Linked DNA regions of Homo sapiens: regions 1, 2, 3, 4, 5 and 7 are each linked to region 6. The links are contacts of gene promoters, found by promoter capture Hi-C in blood cells and fetal thymus (Javierre and others, 2016). All regions are on one chromosome and are shown on one strand. Each heading gives the region's core, a stretch centred on a gene start or on the middle of the fragment in contact. The rest is flanking DNA. Distances are from core to core; before and after follow the strand shown.

Region 1 (3,208 bases), core at 417-2,916, 270 kb before region 6:
ACCTGAACTCTGTTACATTGAATAGAGCTCAAAAAGGATGAACAATTAGGATTTGATTTTTAAATTTTTTTACAGATATTTTTACTAACATTGTATAAAATAATTTTTTTATAATACTCTCCTTAGGAATCCAGGCCAGTGGTCTGTATTAGATATGTATATGTGTATGTGTATTATAATTATAATAATTTAATTACTAAGCCATCTTGCTAGGTTAAGATCTAAGATAGATTATACCAAGTAGAGCATGTAATGGTATGGCAAGTCTGACTCTATTTATTGCAACGATGTAGTTGTATTTATTTGGTCAGTATTTATTGAATGCCTAACAAAGGTTAAGATAAAAAAAAGAATAAAACACAATTCCTGCCCTAAGGATGAAGGAGTTCTTTACGTGGGAGGTCAGCACACTGATAAAGAATTATAGTGCCCTGTGATACATGCATTCAGATAGAGCTGTGCACAAAAGATCATGGAAGCCCTAAGGAGAGGCTAATGCATGGGAGGAAAATGTTAAGGAAGTTTAACGGTTATGAATTTCAATTTTGCAATTTTAGGTCCTGGATTTTGTGTCTGGTCCAGTGATGAAGTCTTTGTCATTTTAGGAAAGTCCCTGTTTAAAAAATATGTCATAGTGCTATTTTGAAATGCCTTTTAGAAGATTCGGCCCATGTTTTTAGGTTAGGTTTTCATGCTGTTTGTGAAAAATCTAAAAGTAATTATACCTGGAAAATTTTTTTAAGCATGCATGTGGTCTTCCTTCAGTTCCCTACTTTTCTTCCTCCCCATTGTGAAAACTTGGGAGGAGAAAGTTCAAAGGAAAAAAGAAATTACTATAACCCAACTTCCAAGGGTAACTTTTAATGCCTTAATATACATTCTTATATTGGGAGGGTTTTATGGCAATTTTCCGAGTTTTTTTTTTCTCTTAAAGAAAATCCTGTTTATAGGCTAGCTGTGGTGGCTCACGCCTGTAATCCCAGCACTCTGGGAGGCTGAAGCAGGAGGATTGCTTGAGCTCAGGAGTTCAAGACAAGCCTGAACAACATAGCGAGACCTCGCCTCTACTAAAAAAATTAGCCAGGCATGGTTCTGGACACCTCTAGTCCCAGCAACTTGGGAGACTGAGGTAGGAGGAGCTCTTGAGCCTGGGAGTTCGAGGCTGCATTGAGCTATGATCATGCCACTGCACTCCAGCCTGGGTGACAGAGTGAGACCCTGACTCAAAAAAAAAGAATAAAGTACTGTTTATAAATTTAGTCCACATCCCAGTGCTTCTGCTTCAGGGGCCTGTTTTATGCCTACAATCATGTTGGGTAATGTGGGGAGACACTACAAAAGAGTTATGGGACATGGCATTGTCCTCAGCCAGCAAGCTTACGGAGGATTTTAATCAAACTGCATGAAATAAGTAAATACTGTTTAAATTGGTATATTTTCTGTTAATATCTCCTGAAGGTTCAGAAGGGTTCTTGAAAGGCCCCCTGTCTGAAGAAACAGAAGCATCGGACAGTGTTGATGGAGGTCACGATTCTGTCATTTTGGATCCAGAGCGACTTGAGCCTGGGCTAGATGAGGAGGACACGTACGTTGTGATATGCATAGAAAGCTGTAGCTGGGGTTGGGGGTGTGTGTGTGTGTGTGTGTGTGTGTGTGTGATTTAAATTAGACCATGATAATTTCAGATTTAGTAGGGACCTCTTATATTACTTTTCATCATAAATGGATATTTATATCCTGATCTTTTGTCTGGGATGGGTAATGCCTTACAATATGATTATAAAATTCCTGATTGAGCCCTACACCTATAGCCTTTCAGCTTGGACTTGTTATTTTTTAATATATTAGGATTTATATTTTTAAAAGTTTTAGAAACAGTCAAAGAAGTGATCTTTTGGAAGAACTGGCAATTTTTTCCCTTCAGTTGCCTTATGGAACTCAATTTTCAAAAGCTTAAGTATTGTTATGGTGGTATTCCGCTTTGAACTCATCAACAGATACTGTGCCCCTAATGTAGAGGTTTATGGTCCAAATTGTTTTTTCACAGGGACTTTGAGGAGGAAGATGACAACCCCGACTGGGTGTCAGAGCTGAAGAAGCGAGCTGGATGGCAAGGCCTGTGCGACAGATAATGCCTGAGGAAATGTTCCTGAGTCACGCTGAGGAGAGGCTTCACTCAGGAGTTCATGCTGAGATGATCATGAGTTCATGCGACGTATATTTTCCTTTGGAAACAGAATGAAGCAGAGGAAACTCTTAATACTTAAAATCGTTCTTGATTAGTATCGTGAGTTTGAAAAGTCTAGAACTCCTGTAAGTTTTTGAACTCAAGGGAGAAGGTATAGTGGAATGAGTGTGAGCATCGGGCTTTGCAGTCCCATAGAACAGAAATGGGATGCTAGCGTGCCACTACCTACTTGTGTGATTGTGGGAAATTACTTAACCTCTTCAAGCCCCAATTTCCTCAACCATAAAATGAAGATAATAATGCCTACCTCAGAGGGATGCTGACCACAGACCTTTATAGCAGCCCGTATGATATTATTCACATTATGATATGTGTTTATTATTATGTGACTCTTTTTACATTTCCTAAAGGTTTGAGAATTAAATATATTTAATTATGATTTAGTAATGTGTGCAGTTTTTCAATATGACCTGATTCTGAGTAGTTTGAAGATCATTCCAATGATCTTCACCAACTACCAGCTGTCCTTAAATACAGTCCCTCATAGGATGCACAAAAGAGCCTGGGTTGGAGGGTCAGCCCTGGGAAGCTTGGGGTGGTCTGCAGATCTTGTCAGAAGATGGCAGTCCTGTAGATGAGGAAGGAAGAGGCCAGAGGTGAGGAGCAGTTAATGGTAAATATCAGAAACTAGAGAGTGATGTGGAACGAATAGGAGGAGGCATGGCGCACACGTGCTGGGTCCTGTCGTGTGTGAACCTCATCTAATAGTGTGCACTTCAGTGAGATGAGAATATTTCACTAAAGAAACAGGCTTCGCTCAACACCTCTCAAAGAGACGTGAGCCAGCCAAATACAGGGAACGGTGCTAAAGTGAAGAGTAGGGGGAAAATACATTTAGGGTCATTAACAAGCAGTTGCTGAAATCTGGAATATATACATCTTTTAAAGATTTAACAGTTTTTAAATCTTAACATGTAAAACCTGTGGTATAGAACCAACCCTCCACCTCACACATACGCT
Region 2 (2,743 bases), core at 38-2,537, 500 kb after region 6:
CCTTTATCTCTCTGCCACTGTTCTCACCTCATCCTAAAACCTGGTCAGGAGGGTTTGAAACCTATCAGAACTAAAGGTTAATATCTCATCTCCCTCAGGCTTTTTTCATTTAAAAAAAAAATGGGTATATTAGTTAAATTAGAATACTTGTTGTAGAATTATTGTCAAAGGGGAAGGGAAATACATCTAGGGGAAACATCATGTCTTTTAGGCCCTTTATGTCACTGAATGACTTAAGGCTCGACAAATGATATTCTTGGAAAGTTTAATCTTGAGGTTTTCAAATCTTTTTTTTTAATGTCTCCCATGTTTCTCATTTGCTGATTGATTCATTAGTTGCTCTTAGTAAGATTTGTCAGTTGGAAATAATGAAGGCTGAGACTCATTTCTAAACTCTTCCATAACCATCACCAGAAGAGCAGCCACTGTGTTGTGTGATGTAGGCTAATGCCTCCCAGATAGAGGTAAAGTCACAAGGACTATTAGAATTCCAGTGGATTGTGGAACTGGTTTTGGATTATCCTTATATTTTCATTCTGATTACTGAGGCAGTTCTGAAAACTCCTACCATTGAAATAGTGGTGTGTCTTTTCCTTGTTTAAGGATTTTACATCATTTTTATGCACTTGAATTCCAAAATCAGAATCTCTCTTTTACCTATCAACCTTTATTGGCTATTGGCTTTTGGCAATGACCTTTCTGTTCAAATGTAGTCCTGTCTCTTTGTTTCCTTAGGGAGTAGAACCTGTCCTTTTTCTCATCTTTCATTTTTTTGACGTGTCCTTTCTAAGAGAAGGCTCTCTGCCGCCTGTTCTGGGTGATAAGTGATATTTTCATCTAATCGTTATGTGGTTGGGATGATCATGGTGAAATACTAGGAAGACATACTCTGTTGATGGACTTTTTCTCTCCAAATAATCCCAAATAGATTATTTTCTAGTGAATGGTTTATATCTTTCTCGTCACAAAAATGTTCCTTTGATTTCTAGCACAAGGTACAGCAGGATGCAAATGATTCTCAGATAAAATGATGTTGACAGTATTTCCTTAACAATTTATGTAAAACTATGCATAATTTTCATTCTAACTTTTGACATTTTTCTCCATAAATAAAAGTAATGCCTGATGTTTAGTTAAAGTAGATCCACCTTTGCTTGATTTTATTAGTCTTGTTCTATCCTATTTCTTTTTAATACACTGTTTAGACTTGCCAACAACTCTTAACTGAGAATCTCTTTTCCTTCCTAGGCTAAGTAATTGTGAGTGGGGGAGGAAGAACATTAAGAGAAATAATCTAAAGACTTTGTTCAATATTGTCGAAGCCTAAGAATATTTGTGTGTCCTTCTGATGTACTGAGGCTTTGCCGGTACCACACCATCTTTGGATTACCATAAGGTTATGTAGTAGGACTTAAAAGTACTAGGGCAAACATTTGATTTTTGAGAAAGATCAACAGAACAGTATAGAAATCCAGGTGCATTCATTAGAATACTAGGATCACAAGAGGACTACTCTGGTGTACTCTAGTGACCTGAAAAAACTCTAAAATGATAAGAAAGCTAGGGGACAAAGGGAAAAAAGGGCAAGATTTATAATTTATTTTACTTTCATGATTTTTCCAAGTGTCTTCAGAAGTAGAAACCTATAGCATTAAAAAAAAAAATCTACATTAACTATATATGAGCTGAGAGAATGAGAAGGTAAAAAACATGGAGGATAAGTTTCCTTTGTACTTACGAAATAGTCCCCTTTCTTAGGATAGAAGATAGCAACTGGGTAGCTTCTGAAGCACCATAAAAACAGCTAGAAAGAATGCTTATTTTTGAGGGGATAGTGGACAAATGAGCCCTTGTTGCTAGAGAGACACTGATAAATTATCTGAATCCTGTCAAAAAATACTGTAATACCTGTGTTAGGTTCTCTCAGGAAATAGATGAATGGCCGATCTGCTTTAAAAATAGGAATCCGAGACCTTTTCAATAACAACAGAGCTGCAGGAAAGAAAGAAAAATTCCATTGCATTTTCTGTGCATTTTTAAGAAAATAACTATTGGTTATGAAGTAAGTTAATTTTTTAAGAAATCAAAGCATCCTAATGGCATTTGATTGTTTACTGTTGTGATGGGGGTGCAGATGGGAAAATTAAAGAGAAAAGATGCCATTTAGCCAATCCTGTCTCCTGTTTTCAACACATTCCATGGAATAAATTCCTTATTGAAGGTAACTTTCAGAATTATTTTTATGGGATGGATATCTCTTCTTCCCCGTCATTTTTCAAAAACTTTTTGTTTTCTTTAGTGTTCCTTTTTAAAAAATACTACACCACACCTGAACTTGGGGGTTATGGAAAGATTCAGAAGTGTGAAGATTCAACTAGGTAAATTTCAGAAAGGTAGATATGGGTAAGCAGTGTGACTGGGTATTCTCTGAACATACCTGTGGCTCCAGATGCCTTGGTGCCTTCCTCCAAAACTTCAATCTTGGCCTTGTGGATTGCTTCAGAAACATAAAAGCCATCTTGGCCTAACCACAGAAAATGATAAAAATGTGAGTTGCTCATTAACATTTTTCTAACACATTTAGAACACATTCTTTAAAAATGTACTTACAAAATTTATAGTATCCAATGCTGCTTACTGTGTAGCTAGGGAAAGAGTGGAAAATTCTGTTTTTGTTTTTACTGGAGGCTCAGGTAGCTGTTTGGAAAATTCTTAAGACTCAATATGTTACCAAACTTTAATT
Region 3 (3,210 bases), core at 369-2,868, 460 kb after region 6:
ATTTTTAGTACAGACGAGCTTTTGCTGTGTTGGCCAGACTGGTCTCAAACTCCTGGCCTCAAGTCCCAAATTGCTGGGATTTAGGCATGAACCACTATGCCTGGCCATACCGTACAGAAACACTCTTATGGTGTATGTATGCGTCTATTTGGAACTTAGTTTTGTAGTCTTTTTTTAAAATCATACTTTATTATAGTACCTTGTTATCATTTTGAATATGTTAAATCAACACTATAATAGTTAAGGTAGACAGAACATTAGGACATACCGTATTCTATATTTTTTCCTCTGTATTTGGTATCAGTCCCTGGATTTTTGCTTTTATGAGTCTGTTTCTTTCATTCCTATTATTTTTGTTATCAATCATCCTAGTGCTTTTTTAAATGATTGTGTTAGCTTTCTAGCTTGTCTTGGCTGCTTTCAGTCTGTCCTGCAGGTTGCAAAATTATTTTAAAGCATACCACTTGAGTGTATTACTCTACTGTTCACAATGTTTCATTGCTTTCCATTGTCTACTAGGTTGCTCAGTGCCCTTCACAACTTAGCCAGTCACATTATTTATTCATCCATCCATGTATTCATTCAGCCATATTTATTAGGTTCTATGAACCAGACAGGATGGAGGAATATGTGCTATGAGAGCTTATAATGAATTAGATCTGGTCAAGGAGGTCATTGGAGAGCCAAGATCTGAAGAGAGTAGGATTTGTTACTCAAAAAATAGAAAAGAGGATTGTACCAGACAGAGGGACTAGCATGTACAAAGGCTTTTTTTTTTTTCCTCTGAAAGGAATATATTTTGAGAATGAAGAACTGAAAGAAGGCTACTGTGGCTTAGACACAGGGGTGTCCAATCTTTTGGCTTCCCAGGGGCACATTGGAAGGAAGAACAATTGTCTTGGGCCACACATAAAATACACTAACACTAATGATAGCTGATGAGCTAAAAAAAAAAAAAAAATCACAAAAAAATCTCATAATGTTTTAAGAAAGTTTACAAATTTGTGTTGGGCCACATTCAAAACCATACTGGGCTACATGCAGCCTGTGGACCACGGGTTGGACAAGCTTGGCTTAGAGCATAAAAGAAGAGGGATCGTAGTACAAGATGGAAAAGAAGGTTGGACTTGACCATACAGGGGGCTTCCAGACCATGCTGAGTAATATTATTAATATAAAAGCAATAAGAAGCCATCCAAGGGTTTTATTTAGAGGTAGGGGGTGGAGGAGAGGGAGATAAAAGTGGTCTCCGTTGGAGCATTGTTGTTTAGTCTTGACAATAGCTTGGTCAAGGAGGTTGGTGATGGCAGAAGAGTTTCAGTTTCAAGAGATACTTAGGAGGTTAAATCAGTAAAACCTGCTGACATATAATGCAGTTGGGGGTGTAAGAAACAGGGAGGAGGTGACGTAAGAAACAGGGAGGAGGTGGTTATCCATTATTCGATAAATGATGCCATTTTACTGAGTTAGGGAATATTGGAAGAGGACCATTTTGGGTAGAGGAAAATCTTAAGTTCAGTTTTGAACATGTTTAGTTTGACATACCCTTTGAGCCATTCAGGGGGGTGTGTCATGAGGCAGAATATTTGGTGCTCAGAGAGAGATAGAGGCTCAAAATACAGTTTTTATTATTTGATTATTGATAGGAATTGAAGCTGTGAGTAGTAGGGTTGGGGGTTGAGACTATACATTGGGCAAGACCTAAGACTGATTCTTGCGGATCTGCAGCACTTACTAGTTAGGTATTGGAGATTGTGTCTAGGTTAGGGGTGAGGATGGAAGGCAGTAGCAGCCAGAGGAGAGAAGGAAAACCATGAAAATATTTCAGCATGAAAGCCAAAGGAAGATTCCTTTCAAAAGACTGGGAAGTAGTTTTGAATGCTGCTTGGAAGCCAGATTTGAAAATCTCCAATGGATTTAATGACTCAAGGAGAGATCTGCTGCTGTGTAACAAGTCATCCCAAAACTTAGTGACTTAAAACAACAGTTTATTATTTCTTAAGAATTTGTGAGTTTGTTACATAAGCCCCAGGCTTATCCAGGACTGGAACGTACAAGATGGTCTTATTTATATGTCTGGGGCTTTGGTGCTGCCAGTTTTCTGGGGGACCTTGCTTCTCATCTCTGTGGCTTCTGTCTCCATCATTTAGTAGCATAATTCAAGCTTTTTTACATGGTAGCCAGCTTCCATGGAAGTGGAAATAAGGCTGCTAGGCCTAGTAAGACTTAGACTCTGAATACCTTTGAGTGCTTCGGAGTACTGTGCCATCTACCAGAGTAACCAAGCCAAAACAAAACAAAAACCCATTGATGACTTAGTGTAAGAGTTGTTTATGAAAAAAAAATTAACAGTAGGGAAATCCAAGAATTGATAGGCTAAGTATAACTCCAAAAGACAGATACATTGAGAGGACTGGGGAACGAAGAAAATTTCCTAATTATTCCTCTGCATTTTCTTTAAGCTTGACCTCAACTGGGCTGCTGATTTCCTGAACACTTCCTCTTTCTTTCCTCATGTACTCCTTTTCCCTGGACGTTATTTCTCTATCTCCCTATATTAAAATCCAACCCATCCTTAAAGGATTAAAGGCTTTCTTAAAAATCTTTCTCTCCTCCTTTGCACTGTATTCTCCACCAGTTCTGAAGTTTAATTTAGTTTTCATCCCAGTATTTATTATTATTATTTCTTGTCTCCTATGTGTTTGATCATGATCTTCACTCTTCATTACTCCCTAACTTGCATGAGGTTCTGGATTCTCAGTAAACTTATTATTCTTCACACTTGCTCAGATGCTACTTCCTCTGAGAAGTCTTCCCTGGTTTGTCCCCTAATCATTTATTCTTTTGTACTTTATGCATATTTTTATTGTTGTACATATCATAACACATAATTGTTTACTTACATGTTTTTGAAAGTAGAAGATTACAATGTGTAATGTGTTGCCTTTCATTAAATAAATCCTGAGTTATAGCTTGATTTCTGATCCCTATTTTAATTTTTTTTAAAAGTCCCCACATGTTGACAATAAAATGTGTATATTTATCATGACCTAATTATTTCTTTGATACTGTGCTGAGTTCATTGGTACTAGGCCACTGCAGTAAACGGTAAAGAAAAGTTATGATTTGGTATATGAAGTTAAAAATTACAAGAAATAATATATGGTCAAGTTTTTTATATCTCTTAATAAGGCAAGAATGAATATATGA
Region 4 (3,120 bases), core at 40-2,539, 430 kb after region 6:
CACATAATAGTTAACAGCTTCATTCAACTTTATATATTAATAAATTAAAAGTCTTTTGAATGTTTGTTTTGTTTTTATCCATAATGATTTTGCTTGAGAAGTTATTTCTGTTTTCTGTTGTAAAGTATTCTTATGTGCGAGGTGATGCATTTGAGGTGCTGTCTACTGCCTTTGTAGAAATGCCCTTTGGGGTACAATGTATTTTGTTTCCATATGTCTGGATCTGTTTTGTTTGTAAAATTTGTTTTGTGGAGACCTCTTCTAGCTTAAAAATATCTTGAAATATACATGTGTATTGGAATTGCTCACCTTTCTTCCTATGTCTTTCCTTGGGAAGGATTTTGGAAAAATAGGGCAATGTGTTTATAACCTGAAACTACCTTGCTAGTAAGGTTAGGAAGATTTTCCTGTGGGCAGAGTTTTTACCTTTTAGTTCTATCTTTTACAATACTAGCATAGTATTGACAACAGAGCCTATATTTTTAAAAAGTATTGATTATAAACATTGGTGTATTGAATCTGGTAGTCATTGAGTTCAAAATTGATTACCGTTGCACCTTATTATCTGAGGTGGAAGGTTCATTTGTTTTAAAGCAAAAGTAAATTATTTTGAAGTTGGAACATAGGCCGGTGAGTTGTTTCAAGGTTAGGAATGTCTTTGATTCCCTGCGTGTTTTCTTCTTAATGTACCAACGAGACTCTCGTTGGAGCAATGAGAAAGTTATCCTAGATTAATTTTTGCTAAATGTTGTGAGATATTGTGAAATATTCTAGCCTAAATAATTATGGGATTTGTTTTAAGGAGCTTTTCAATTCATAGAAAAGCATAAAGATGCTTTTTGTATTGTTCTTCTGTGTTTGTATTGTGCACGTGCATGAATGCTAGATATGATCTGTATTCTGGTTCCTACTAGGGAATAACAATTTTGCCTTTATATCACTGTCTTTTCACATCTCTCAACCTTTGCCTCTGGCAGAACTTGATTCTTTTTTAGATTTATTCAGTGTATGAATGTGTCATTAATTTCCACATTAGAGATATGTGTACATAATTCCTGTTTGGCTTGTGGCTGGTGTTGGTATGACCTATTACTTTTTATGGAGTTGTATAATTCCACCTGTATGATATCCTTTGCTTAAGAGTCATGTTATCCAACATTGTATATTATATCTGTTCTGTTGGTGCTGTTTTTCAGGAGTAAATGTTCTTGCTGCTTTAAAATCATCCTTATATCATATGAGGAAATATAGAACTCATTTAGTCTTATATTTTACAAATGAGAAAATTGAGATCCAGGGAGTCAGAGTGATTTGCTTAGGTTATAACATTTGTTACTGCCAAAATCTAGATTAGAATTTATCAATTCCAAAGACATTCCAGCACCTCCAGACCAGTGCTTTCTTCCTGATACGGCTGCTGCCTTTTTGCTTGATTCTAAATTTGTGTGTTCTTAAAATTTACCTTCTATTTATCTGATTTCTTATTTGTCTACTTCAGCTTTCTATGTAAGTGTCTTTTAGGTATTCTGTTCTTATTCAGTGTTCCATGAAAAACTATTATGACCAGAGCATTTCTAGGCAATGAGGATAACAAAGATAAACAGGACATATCTGGTTCTTAATATTTAAGTTCACAGTGTTATGGGGGAAATCACCTATTAAATGGTTTTATGAATGATAAAATAAGGATACATACTAAGTGTGTGGGAGTACTAAAGCAGGGGAAGGGTTAATATTACCTTTCGTGTGTCAAATCTTGTATAATGTGCATTTTTATAGTATAATTTCATTTTTGAATGACTGAATTCAAGGATCTTATGGATGATTTGGCATAGGGTGTGGCTCCTACCTTGTATCTGTGAATTTTAGGAAGAAGCCCAGTGTAAAGTTGTTTTGAGCCTAGAAAATAGTTTTCCTAGCGGCAGGAAAAATGTGGTGCCATATTGTCTCTTGACCTGGCTAAGTATGTATAGGCCCAAATGAACCAATTTCTTATAACTTGTTTGTCAGAAAAATGTAGGAATACTGTTCTCTGGGACAGCTCGTCACTTAGCAATGTGTTATGAGTTAGGAAAGAAAAGTAATAGATACATTATGAATGAAAATCTTGAGCTGTATATGATCATTTTACATTAATTTATGATTTCAATTATATCCTTGGGCCTCATTTAATAAAAGTCCAGGCCATTGTCTGAAGTGTCATGAATGTATTTCTAGTGTAGTCTTTTTGGATAACTGTCTAGGATTTCTGATGATTACTTGGATTGAATTTTATGTGTATATATTTGGCTTTTTTTTTAATGCAGCTATTTGATAAAACTGGTTGTAGCATTTTCACTTACGAGGAGTGTGTTTGATAGGACTTTGAATTCTGAAACACGATAAAACTATATTACTTACTTCCTTAGTAGTTACCGTTGATGTTGATAAACATACCTGTGTCCAGATACTCAGTACTGTTTGTCATGTTATATAACTGATATATCAAATGTTTTGGTAGAATCAACAAATTAGAGTTATTGAAAAGGATTTTCTTCTGATATCTGCAGATAATCCTCTCTAGTACTGCTTTGCAATGGAAAACTATTCTGTACTATGATTCCAGGAACACATGGCTAATGAATATTGCTCAATAGAGGAGCCCAGAAGAAATCCTGCCAGTACTTTCTTAGTGATGAATGACATTCCAGGATAGTGTAGCAGTTATTTTTCTCTTCCTTGAAAGTGCTAATAGTAGTATTGTCTTTCAAATATTGAGATTTCTATATGCTGACAAGTCCTTCTGCATCTCTTTACCAATGTTATGATTGCTGTGGAGGCTAACGTTGAGAGAAGGTATTTGCAGCCAAAGTAATCTGTTGGGAAGAGTTTTACTTGCTTATTAGCTGTCCCAGCTTTTTAAGCCCAACTAGGACAACTACTTTTGTAACTTCATGGGATAGATATTCGGTAAGGGCATGTCTTCATAGAAAGAGAATGAGTAGTCTCAGCTGTGTATTCAAATGGCTGTAGATTGGGGTCTTCTATTCCAACTTGTGGGTTCTCAAAAATGGATGCAAAAGTCCACCATGCTTTGAGATATGGATAATTCTAGGCATTGTAAATGGGTTTAGTTTAACT
Region 5 (2,993 bases), core at 168-2,667, 410 kb after region 6:
TTCCCAGTTGATATCTGCCCCCAGAGAACACTTTAGTTCTTGTCTATAAGGCTTACCAAAAGTTTGCGGGAAAGGTGGTCCTGTGCTGTTACCACTTTGACCAAGAGAAGAACCTGGAGATTGGGATGTTTTTGCATGTCAGGATTTATTAATTCAATAACAGAGAGGGATGATGCTTCTCACTTATTCTGATGAATCAGCAAAGATTGCAAAGCATAATATTAATGCTTATGTCTTGAATTGGCACATTAAAAATGACACTAGCATTAAAATAAGCCACTGTTTTCAAATGAAAATGATAATTTGAGTAAAGAGTATTGAATTGGAAGAAAACATTCTTCCAGAAGATTTTTTTCATCATAAAACTATCTGATTTAAACATTTCATGTTTTCTATTCACAACAAGGATAAATGATTAGGAATTTTGGATGTCTCAAATATTTAATACTGAATATTGTTCATGTGTTTTCTTCTTTGTAAAAGTACTTTGTATCTGCCTGTTTGCTGTGGAATACTTTTATTTTGTAACTTCAATGTCTTTACATAAGTATTTCCCCTTTCCTGCTCTATACTAGGATCTGTGGTGTTCACAGTACTAAATACTTGTATGTAACGTTAGTAGTTGAAGGAAATGAGAAAAGATTAGGTGGAAGATAGAACGTATATATTTTATAGAACATCTAAAAACTTTAATGTTCTGAATTACTTTCTTAAATGTCTGGGTTAATATATATATTTGTATATTTATGTAGATATCCACCATTCTCCCACATATATGCACATATATGATTTTTCATAACTAATTACAAGACTATTAAATCTATATTGCATTTGTTAACTTAGTTAACATACCTACAGATAAAACATCTTTGAATTATTAGCTAGGATGCTATCAGAATTTGCAGGGCATTAGTAAGGTTAAGTAACTGAGAAAAAAGAATGGTTCTTAGTGAATGTTTTCCTCAAGCACTTTGGGTATCCCACTAAAAAATTCCATGCCTACAGACATTGTTATAAATATTTAATTTTGATAATCAGTACCATTTACTGATATTTCTACAGTAATGGAGCAATGTATAGCCTTTAGTCAATCTTTTCCTTTATAGCAGTACTTTAAGTTGCATATCATTGCAGATAAATTTGATACATAAGTTTTTCACGTGTGTTCAACAGAGTTTCAAATAATGCTGATCCTTTGAGACCTGCTGAAAGTCTGAAGCAGCCTTAATATCTAAAATTAGGAAATGTATAAAATGTGAGAGGTCTGATTAAAGTTTTATATGTAGATGAGTTAATTTTCTTATTGTTACAGGTCATCCTGTTTTCCATCAATATATATGTATATTTTTTTTGAGACAGAGTTTCTCTCTTGTTGCCGAGGCTGGAGTGCAGTGGCGCGATCTCGGCTCACCGCAGCCTCCTCCTCCTGGGTTCAAGCCATTCTCATGCTTCAGCCTCCTGAGCAGCTGGGATTACAGGCTTGAGCCACCATGCCTGGTTAATTTTGTATTTTTAGTAGAGACTGGGTTTCTCTATGTTGGTCAGGCTGGTCTCGAACTCCTGAACTCAGGTGATCTGCCCACCTTGGCCTCCCAAAGTGCTAGGATTACAGGCGTGAGCCACAGCACCCGGCCCGATATTTTCAACATTGTCTTTTTTTTTTTTTTTTTTTTTTTTCAGTAAATTATGTTAGTTAAGATTAGCCAATATATCTTTACTCTGGCCTGCAAGTCCGTTTTTGTTACTGACCTGATTCCACACCCCTGCTACCTGAAGTATGTTAGTACTGATTAAATTGTTCCAGGAGTTAGAATGGCACCTTTCCTACTATGTGCCCTTGGTGAAGACAATCCTTGACAGATATCTTAAAAGGAGATAAAATATGTGCTTAATTTTTTGAGGATTTTCTATGGTGAATGTTTACCTCATTGAAAAATGGTGGCTTTCGTACAATATCAAATTTAATGATTCTCAGGGAAAAGAATTTTAACCAATTTTATTTTTGAGCATAAAGGTCTATTTTGTAAACTTAGGAGATAATACAGTTATAGTTCTAATACTACTTTTTTTTCCCTTTACCTAAATAGTACCCATTTAATAGGTAGTGTGAAATACAGGCTTCTTTTTGAAGGCTGGCAGGTGAAGTAGTGAGAACTCCATTTCCATTTGGGTGCTTGGTTTCTCTTAGATTATCAACAAATGTATGAATAAGAGTTTGATATTTATTAAGCTATAGACATCTTTTCAAATGAAAGTAAGTTAATTACTATACCTGAAATACTGCTGTGTTGAATATAAACTGGAAACACAATGATGAATAGTATTTTGTAAATTTTTTAATTCCTTTAATTAAAATTTTTTTTTAAATTGTGGTAAGAAACACCTAACAAAATTTACCATCTTAACCATCTTTAAGTGTGCAGTTCAGTAGTGTTAAGTATATTCATATTGCTGTGCAACCAATATCCAGAACTTTTTTATCTTGCAAAATTGAAACTCTATATCAAGTAACTCCCAGTCCCTGGAAACCTCTATTCTACTTTCTGTTTTTATGAATTTGTCTACTCTGGATATCACAGTTAAGTGAAATCATACAGTATTTGCCTTTTTAGATGGGCTCATTTCACTTAGCATAATGTTCTCAACATTCATTTATATTTTAGCATGTCAGGATTTTTTCATCCTTTTTAAGGCTGAATAATACTCTATTGTATGTACCACATTTTGCTTATCCACATATCCATTGATAGTCACTTGGGTTGCTTCCACTTCTTGGCTGTTGTGAATAATGCTGCAATGAACATGGTTGTGTAAGTAACTTTTTGAGATCCTGCTTCCAGTTCTTTTGGATATATACCCTGAAATGAAATGACAGGATCATATTGTAATTCCATTTTAAATTTTTTGAGGAAGTACCATACTGTTTTTCATAGCAGTTGTACCATTTTACGTTCCTACCAACAGTGCACGAGGGTTACACTTTCTTTATATCT
Region 6 (3,125 bases), core at 439-2,938:
ATGAAGACACAGTGGCTAGGCTGTGGACAGCTGGTGGCATCACCATCCATCCAGTCACACAAACCAGAACCAGGGGCACATCCTTGACCTTTCCCTCTCCCTCACCAGACTTCTCTCCTCAACCATCAAGCCCTCCTAGCCGAGATCCAGATCCTTAACATTTCCTGAAACCATGCCCCTGTTCCATCTCCCCCATGACAGCCAGGTCAGGCCAGGATGCCTGTAACAGTCTCGCTGCTCTCTGTATTGATCTTACCCTCTCATCTGCCCCTGCACTGTAGCCCTACAGGTGTTTTCTAGAACACTCTCTCGTCCTATCACATCAGTTCACACACCTTCAAAGACCCTGTAGCCCAAAGATCAAAGCTGAACGCCCTAGGAAGGCCTTGTGCAGCCCAACTCCAGCTTGCTTCTCCCTCTCCTTCCTACCCAGCCTGCACCCAACTCCAAATCTAAGGCCCAGTATTAACGGGCTCTATTCAGCTCTTGGCACTCTGCCTGCAGTTTCCTGCCTGTGTGGTGAAGCACATGTCGCATCCTCTACTGAGAGCCCCTTTTGTTCCTGTGGTGGGCTTGAATTCCTGTACATCCTTTCCCCTCTGAAAGCTACTCGGACCCTCCAGACAAAGTTCCTCGCCACCTCTGCGATACTGTCTGTCTGTTACTCCACTATTACTTGTCACACTTGATTGAAATTAGGTGTGGACATGTCTTCCTGACATCTCTGTAACCCAGCAGCTATCATAATATAACGCCGCCTATATAGGAGGGAATTGGTGAAAATGTTGGTTGAATTGAACTGAATTGAACTGCATTTTGGAAATTTGATTTTCTATGTTGTATGGCTCTTTGCCTAGAATCCCTCCAATATGTGAAGTCCTCCCTCACTTCCATGTCATGCTGGCCCCCTCTCCCTGGATATCCTTGCCCAACCTCACTTCAGTTCACCTAGCGAATCCTTCAGCACTCAGATACCTCCTCCAGGCCATCTCTCCTAAGCTCAGACTGAGCATGTGCCCTTCCTGTCCCACTAGAAACACCTCATCTTCCATCTCTATGTCTGGCATCCAGCGAAATGTTCTGCCACAGGATAGGTGTTCAGGAAATAGTAGCTGGATGAATGGGCGTCTACTGGGTTAGGATGTTGGAAAACATTCACCTCCAAGTTTTTCTCAAGTGAACACTAAACTTTCTTTAAGAAAGAAAGAAAATAAGAACCATATCAAATAGGTAGATGTGTATTAAAATATAAAGTACAATATAAAACTGTAGATGTGTATCTGTATAGCTGTAAAAACATGCACTAAAGATACATGCCCAGTTTTCAGTTATACTGTAAGACTAGGAGCTTCTTTTTAAGGAAAATATTATATATTACCTTATGCTTAGAACAAATACTATACAGTCTAAAGCCAACAGTTACTTACTGCTTAGCTGCTTCCCACTGGGGTAAGTCCTGTAGCCCTCAGAGGGGGCAGGCGGCCATTGTCATGTCAGATCCCCAGTGATGCGTGCTTGCAGGCTTGCCCCAACAATGCTGGCAGTGACCTGTCTGTGCCCTTTCAGTCCTGACTCACAGGATGGAGATGGCCAAGAAGGGGACCCCTATAAAAGACTTTAAGGAAAGGAGGGGGCACTTGAAAGGTTTGAAAGAGTTCCTCTTCAATCTTTGACTTCACTGATAGGGCAGTGCTGTTGATGACTCACAAGTGATTGTTACCTTAGATTCTGTCAGCATTGGTTCCGGGAGCATGGTTCTAGGAAGTCATGTTCTGGTGGGGGCTTTGTGTGGGATGAATCACTTCTCTTGCTGCTTTCCAGATTCTTCGTCTTTGGCTTTTGATAGTTTGACTATGATGTGTCTTGGTCTTGAGGTTTATTCTACTTGGAGATTGTTGAGCTTCTTGGATATGCAGATTTGATGCCGTTTTTCATCAAATTTCAGAAGTTTTTGGCCATTATTTCTTCAAATATTCTTTCATCCATTTTCTCTGTCTCCTCTCCTTCTAGGGCTCATATTATGTGAATACTAGTAGCGTGAGTGTGTCCCCCAGGTCTCTAAAGTTACGTTCATTTTTCTTCATTCTTTTTTCTTTCTGTTGCTTAGATTAGATAATCTCAATTAACCTGTTTACAAGTTCATGGATTTTTTTCTTCTGTCAGTTCAAATATGCTGTTGAATCCCTCTTTAATTTTTCATTTTCAACTCCAGAATTTTTGTCATGTAGTAAAATTTTTAAATAGTCAAGTAAATTAACATATCCATCATCTCATATAGTTACCCTTTTTTGTGCACTGTAGCAAGAGCACCCACAATCTACTCTCTTAGCAAAAATCTTTAATACAGTGTTATTAACTACAGTCCTCATGTTGTACCTTAGATCTCTAAATTATTTATCCTATATATCTGCAACTTTGTACCCTTTGATTTCCCTCTTCCCGTCCACTCCCCACACGTAGCAGCTGCCATTTTATTCTTTGTCTGTGTATTTGACTTTTTTCTTACTTCTTCTTTTTAATTTTTTTAATATTCTACATATAAGTGAAGTTGTGCAGCATTTTTCTTTCTGTGTCTGGCTTATTTCACTTAGCATAATATTCTCCAGTTTCATCTATCTTGTGACAAACGGCAGGATTCTCTGTTTATGACTGAATAATATTCCACTTTATATACATGCTGCAATTTCTTTATCCATTCATCTGTCAGTGGACCCCTAGTCCATCCAGAATTTCTCCAGAAATTTTCACTGTGTCTCCAGAATTTGTTTGGTTATATATAGAAAAGGATATATGTGCTTTTCTATATACATATATATACACACACACACACACACACACTTCTATATATATATTTTTTCTATATATCTATATAAAAGTATATGTATACAAAGTGTGTGTGTGTGTATATATATATATACACACACACATATATATATGTATGCACACATACTTTTCTGTCTCTTTTTGGTAAGGCATAGTTTTTAATTCTTTCCTTTAATGCTTTTTTTTTTTTTTTTTGAGACATGTTTCTGTCACTCAGGCTGGAGTGCAATGGCATGGTATGATCTTGGCTAACTGCAGCCTCAATTTCCTGGACTCAAGTGATCATCCCACCTCAGCCTCTC
Region 7 (2,891 bases), core at 192-2,691, 470 kb after region 6:
TCTAATCCTAGCACTTTGGGAGGCCAAGGTGGGTGGATCACCTGAGGTTGGGAGTTTGAGACCAGCCTGACCAACACGGAGAAACTCCGTGTCTACTAAAAATACAAAATGAGCCAGGCGTGGTGGCGCATGCCTATGATCCCAGCTACTCGGGAGGCTGAGGCAGGAGAACTGCTTGAACCCGGGAGGTGGAGGTTGCGGTGAGTGGAGATCACACCATTGCACTCCAGCCTGGGCAACAAGAGTGAAACTCCATCTCAAAAAAAAAGAAAAACAAAAACAAAAACAAAAAAAAACAAAACACACACACACACAAAGATTTAGAGAATCATTTAATGATAATTGGCAGAGGTGGTCCACTAAAGTAGGTACCTGGGAGAAGAGAAAGATCATAGAGATGAAAGAATGGGGGCACTGAGAGGGTACTATAGGGAAGGAATGGGTGATAACAATAAGTTGTGTCATGTCTGCTTTAACGAAACCAAACTTAAAAAAATTTTAATTGTTACAGTGTATTTATTTTAAATTATTTTAATGCTTTGTTTAGAGTTTGTTACTAGTAAATGTTTACTGGATTGTTGAAGATAGTTGCTGTTTTGCTAAAATTATTTTAGATTAAAGGTAGGTGCTTTGGTCTAGATTTGCTTATTAAGTTCTTTTTTTAGGCTTCGGTTAAAATGATTTCTAAGAAATACTCAATTTGCAGTACTTATTTATTCTAGTATTTATTGTGTGCCTGGCACTGTTTTTGACATTTGGGATATGATGATAAAGGTGGCAAATTGGGTGCTTGCTCTTATCATCTGATGAAGAAAACATGCCATTCATCAAACAGATATTCACCGTAAAGTATGTTTTGTGTGTTCCAGTTGGGAAGGCAAAGGATGCTGCGGACCTCCTTTGAACTGGCGAACTCATAGTTGGAATTTGTACTTATTGTCTAATGAATTACAATCTAGTCTAAATATTCAGCAGACATAGTGTTCTGCCATTTAAGAAAAATAGGAAAACCTGGAAAAAGATATTAGGAATTTTTTATTAATTTAAGTAATAATTGATATAATTTAACTTTTTATGCTTATCCCCCCTTATGATATATGCTTTCTTTGTCTTAATTTCTTTGCTATAGATGGGCAGCCAGATATATCAAGGCCTTTTGGATCTCAGCCTTGGCATAGCTGTCACAAACTCATATATGTCAGACCAAATCCTAAAACTGGGGTTCCTATAGGTCATTGGCCTGTTCCAGAGTCTTTTTGGCCAGATCAAAATTCGCCAACACTAGTAAGTACCAGAGACTGTAACTATGTAATAGTAACCATTCAGCTGTCTTTCCTATTAGTTTCAAATTCTGTTGTCAAAGCTGTGATTAATTTATGGGGATTAGACAGATGTTCAAAGTGCTATGATACCCTGTTACTTGCTTTATTATGTTGCTTTGCTATGATAACCCTGTTACTTTGTTTATTATGAAGTAATAGAAAAAAGGCATCTCCTTCGTTTAGAATCTAATACTATGCTTGCGATTTTTATTCTTGGCTTCTGGGTTCAAAATTTCCTCTTTAGACTCTAAATGAGGATTTGTCTCTGGGACACAATTTAGGATTTAAATGAAGGCTTAGAAAATAATTTTGATAGTTTGCCTGCAATTTTTTAGGACTTAGTCTTAAATTCATATTGATATGTATGGTTTTAGTTATATACAGTGTTGCAGATTGGAGGTTTAAGCTAGAACAGATTTTCTGATTTTGTTTACCTGAATTATTTTTAGGAAAAATGAAGTTTGCTGAGCGATCATGGTGAATTATCAGTATTCATTATATAATTCTTAAAATAATAGGGTACATTTATACAAATTAATATCCATTTAGTCGTGTTAGTGTACTCTTTTTTTCCATATTTTTTTTCTAAGTATCTGAGGGCATTAAGGGATATTTTGTGGGAGAGCATGGCAGTGGTTCTCCTTGATTTTACCTTTAGAAAATAAGAATTGTATTTCAGAGATCATTAAGCAGTCTAATAATGTTTGATACAACAAAACCTTTTTGAAACCTTTTGTACTTCAAACCTGTATCAGCTTTTCAGGATAATTTTTATTTTGAGTTTATAAAGTGATATTTCCTTTATTCATTAGGGATTTAATAAAGTAGTGCATGAAGTTAAGGTTTTCTAAATTTCATTGAAGTATCTTCATTATACCTTTTCTTTTTTTCTGATAGAACCATCATAGTTTTTTAGTCTGGCTTTATGGAGAAACTTCCAATTTCTTTGGTCATTTTACTTTCTTTTCTGGAGCTCTTTCAACTCTTACAGAACAGATACCGTATTTGTATGAAATATTGTCATGTTGGTTATTTATTCTATTTATTTAACATGTACAGGAGAACATACAGTACCTGAGTTGTAATGGAAAGAAATCCAAAACCAGTATCAGAACCCTTATCTATTAATGCTGCTCTAGCAGTCTATCACAAATTCTTAGAAGCCATAGAGGGTAGGTAGGACTTCAATTGGAGAAGGAAATAGTATGAGAAAAAAAATATGGAAGTGAAAAAGAACAAGGTATGTTTAGAGGAGTAACAAGTAGCTGAGTACGGGTGGATCATAACATGTATATAGGACATTGAGAGTACTATTAAACTAACCAAATTGCTTATGACTTTAAATGCAGGGTTAAGGAATATTAGCTTTTAAACAGTGGAGTTCAAAGAGCAGTCGAAGATGTTTTTAACAGACATCTTTAGAAAAATTGATTTGGTGGTGGTTATATGCAGTAAAATTAGAAGGGGAGATGAGTTGAAAGGCAGGTAGGTTACCTATGAGGGCTATTGATATGGTTCACGTAAGAGATTTTAAGTGGTTGAATTATGATGATGGAAGAGAGAATAATA

What was found. The method cuts DNA at HindIII sites, captures the fragments that hold promoters and counts their contacts. A CHiCAGO score of 5 or more calls a contact.
Region 1: a contact is called between a fragment that was not itself captured here and the fragment with the promoter of CCDC70 in region 6, in 4 of 17 cell types (megakaryocytes, erythroblasts, total CD4 T cells and 1 more). The highest score is 6.6, in megakaryocytes.
Region 2: a fragment that was not itself captured here is called in contact with the fragment with the promoter of CCDC70 in region 6 in 2 of 17 cell types (erythroblasts and total CD8 T cells); the score reaches 6.1 in erythroblasts.
Region 3: a contact is called between a fragment that was not itself captured here and the fragment with the promoter of CCDC70 in region 6, in 5 of 17 cell types (total CD8 T cells, total CD4 T cells, monocytes and 2 more). The highest score is 7.6, in total CD8 T cells.
Region 4: a contact is called between a fragment that was not itself captured here and the fragment with the promoter of CCDC70 in region 6, in 3 of 17 cell types (naive CD4 T cells, total CD8 T cells and total CD4 T cells). The highest score is 6.4, in naive CD4 T cells.
Region 5: a contact is called between a fragment that was not itself captured here and the fragment with the promoter of CCDC70 in region 6, in 1 of 17 cell types (total CD4 T cells). The highest score is 6.1, in total CD4 T cells.
Region 7: a contact is called between a fragment that was not itself captured here and the fragment with the promoter of CCDC70 in region 6, in 2 of 17 cell types (non-activated CD4 T cells and total CD8 T cells). The highest score is 5.9, in non-activated CD4 T cells.

The regions. Positions count from the first base shown.
Region 1 is chr13:52,132,066-52,135,273 of GRCh38, reverse strand. NEK3 (NIMA related kinase 3) reads left to right here. Exons shown (of 16, transcript NM_002498.3): 15 at 1,459-1,585; 16 at 2,048-2,627. The coding sequence ends at 2,132. LOC101929657 (a long non-coding RNA gene) reads right to left here. Exons shown (of 2, transcript NR_110306.1): 2 at 2,551-2,816. Among named protein-coding and RNA genes, the nearest start is that of NEK5, 4.6 kb to the right of the region's middle. RefSeq lists an enhancer at 1,724-2,923. The HindIII fragment of the contact is 576 bases long and covers 1,379-1,954 here.
Region 2 is chr13:51,361,059-51,363,801 of GRCh38, reverse strand. It overlaps SERPINE3 (serpin family E member 3), which reads right to left. Exons shown (of 10, transcript NM_001386375.1): 8 at 2,438-2,524; 9 at 1,909-1,992. INTS6 (integrator complex subunit 6) reads left to right here. Exons shown (of 18, transcript NM_012141.3): 18 at 1-2,225. Among named protein-coding and RNA genes, the nearest start is that of MIR5693, 14 kb to the right of the region's middle. The HindIII fragment of the contact is 3,328 bases long and covers 1-2,743 here.
Region 3 is chr13:51,404,651-51,407,860 of GRCh38, reverse strand. All of the region lies in intron 4 of INTS6 (integrator complex subunit 6), which reads left to right. Among named protein-coding and RNA genes, the nearest start is that of INTS6, 47 kb to the left of the region's middle. The HindIII fragment of the contact is 1,096 bases long and covers 1,071-2,166 here.
Region 4 is chr13:51,425,149-51,428,268 of GRCh38, reverse strand. The region is part of intron 4 of INTS6 (integrator complex subunit 6); the gene reads left to right. Among named protein-coding and RNA genes, the nearest start is that of INTS6, 26 kb to the left of the region's middle. The HindIII fragment of the contact is 8,376 bases long and covers 1-3,120 here.
Region 5 is chr13:51,446,418-51,449,410 of GRCh38, reverse strand. The region is part of intron 3 of INTS6 (integrator complex subunit 6); the gene reads left to right. Among named protein-coding and RNA genes, the nearest start is that of INTS6, 5.1 kb to the left of the region's middle. The HindIII fragment of the contact is 3,998 bases long and covers 1-2,993 here.
Region 6 is chr13:51,860,532-51,863,656 of GRCh38, reverse strand. It overlaps CCDC70 (coiled-coil domain containing 70), which reads right to left and starts at 1,688. Exons shown (of 2, transcript NM_031290.4): 1 at 1,428-1,688. It also overlaps a transcript of TMEM272 not described here. RefSeq lists an enhancer at 887-2,086. The HindIII fragment of the contact is 6,103 bases long and covers 1-3,125 here.
Region 7 is chr13:51,385,779-51,388,669 of GRCh38, reverse strand. It overlaps INTS6 (integrator complex subunit 6), which reads left to right. Exons shown (of 18, transcript NM_012141.3): 7 at 1,130-1,284. Among named protein-coding and RNA genes, the nearest start is that of MIR5693, 39 kb to the right of the region's middle. The HindIII fragment of the contact is 3,264 bases long and covers 1-2,891 here.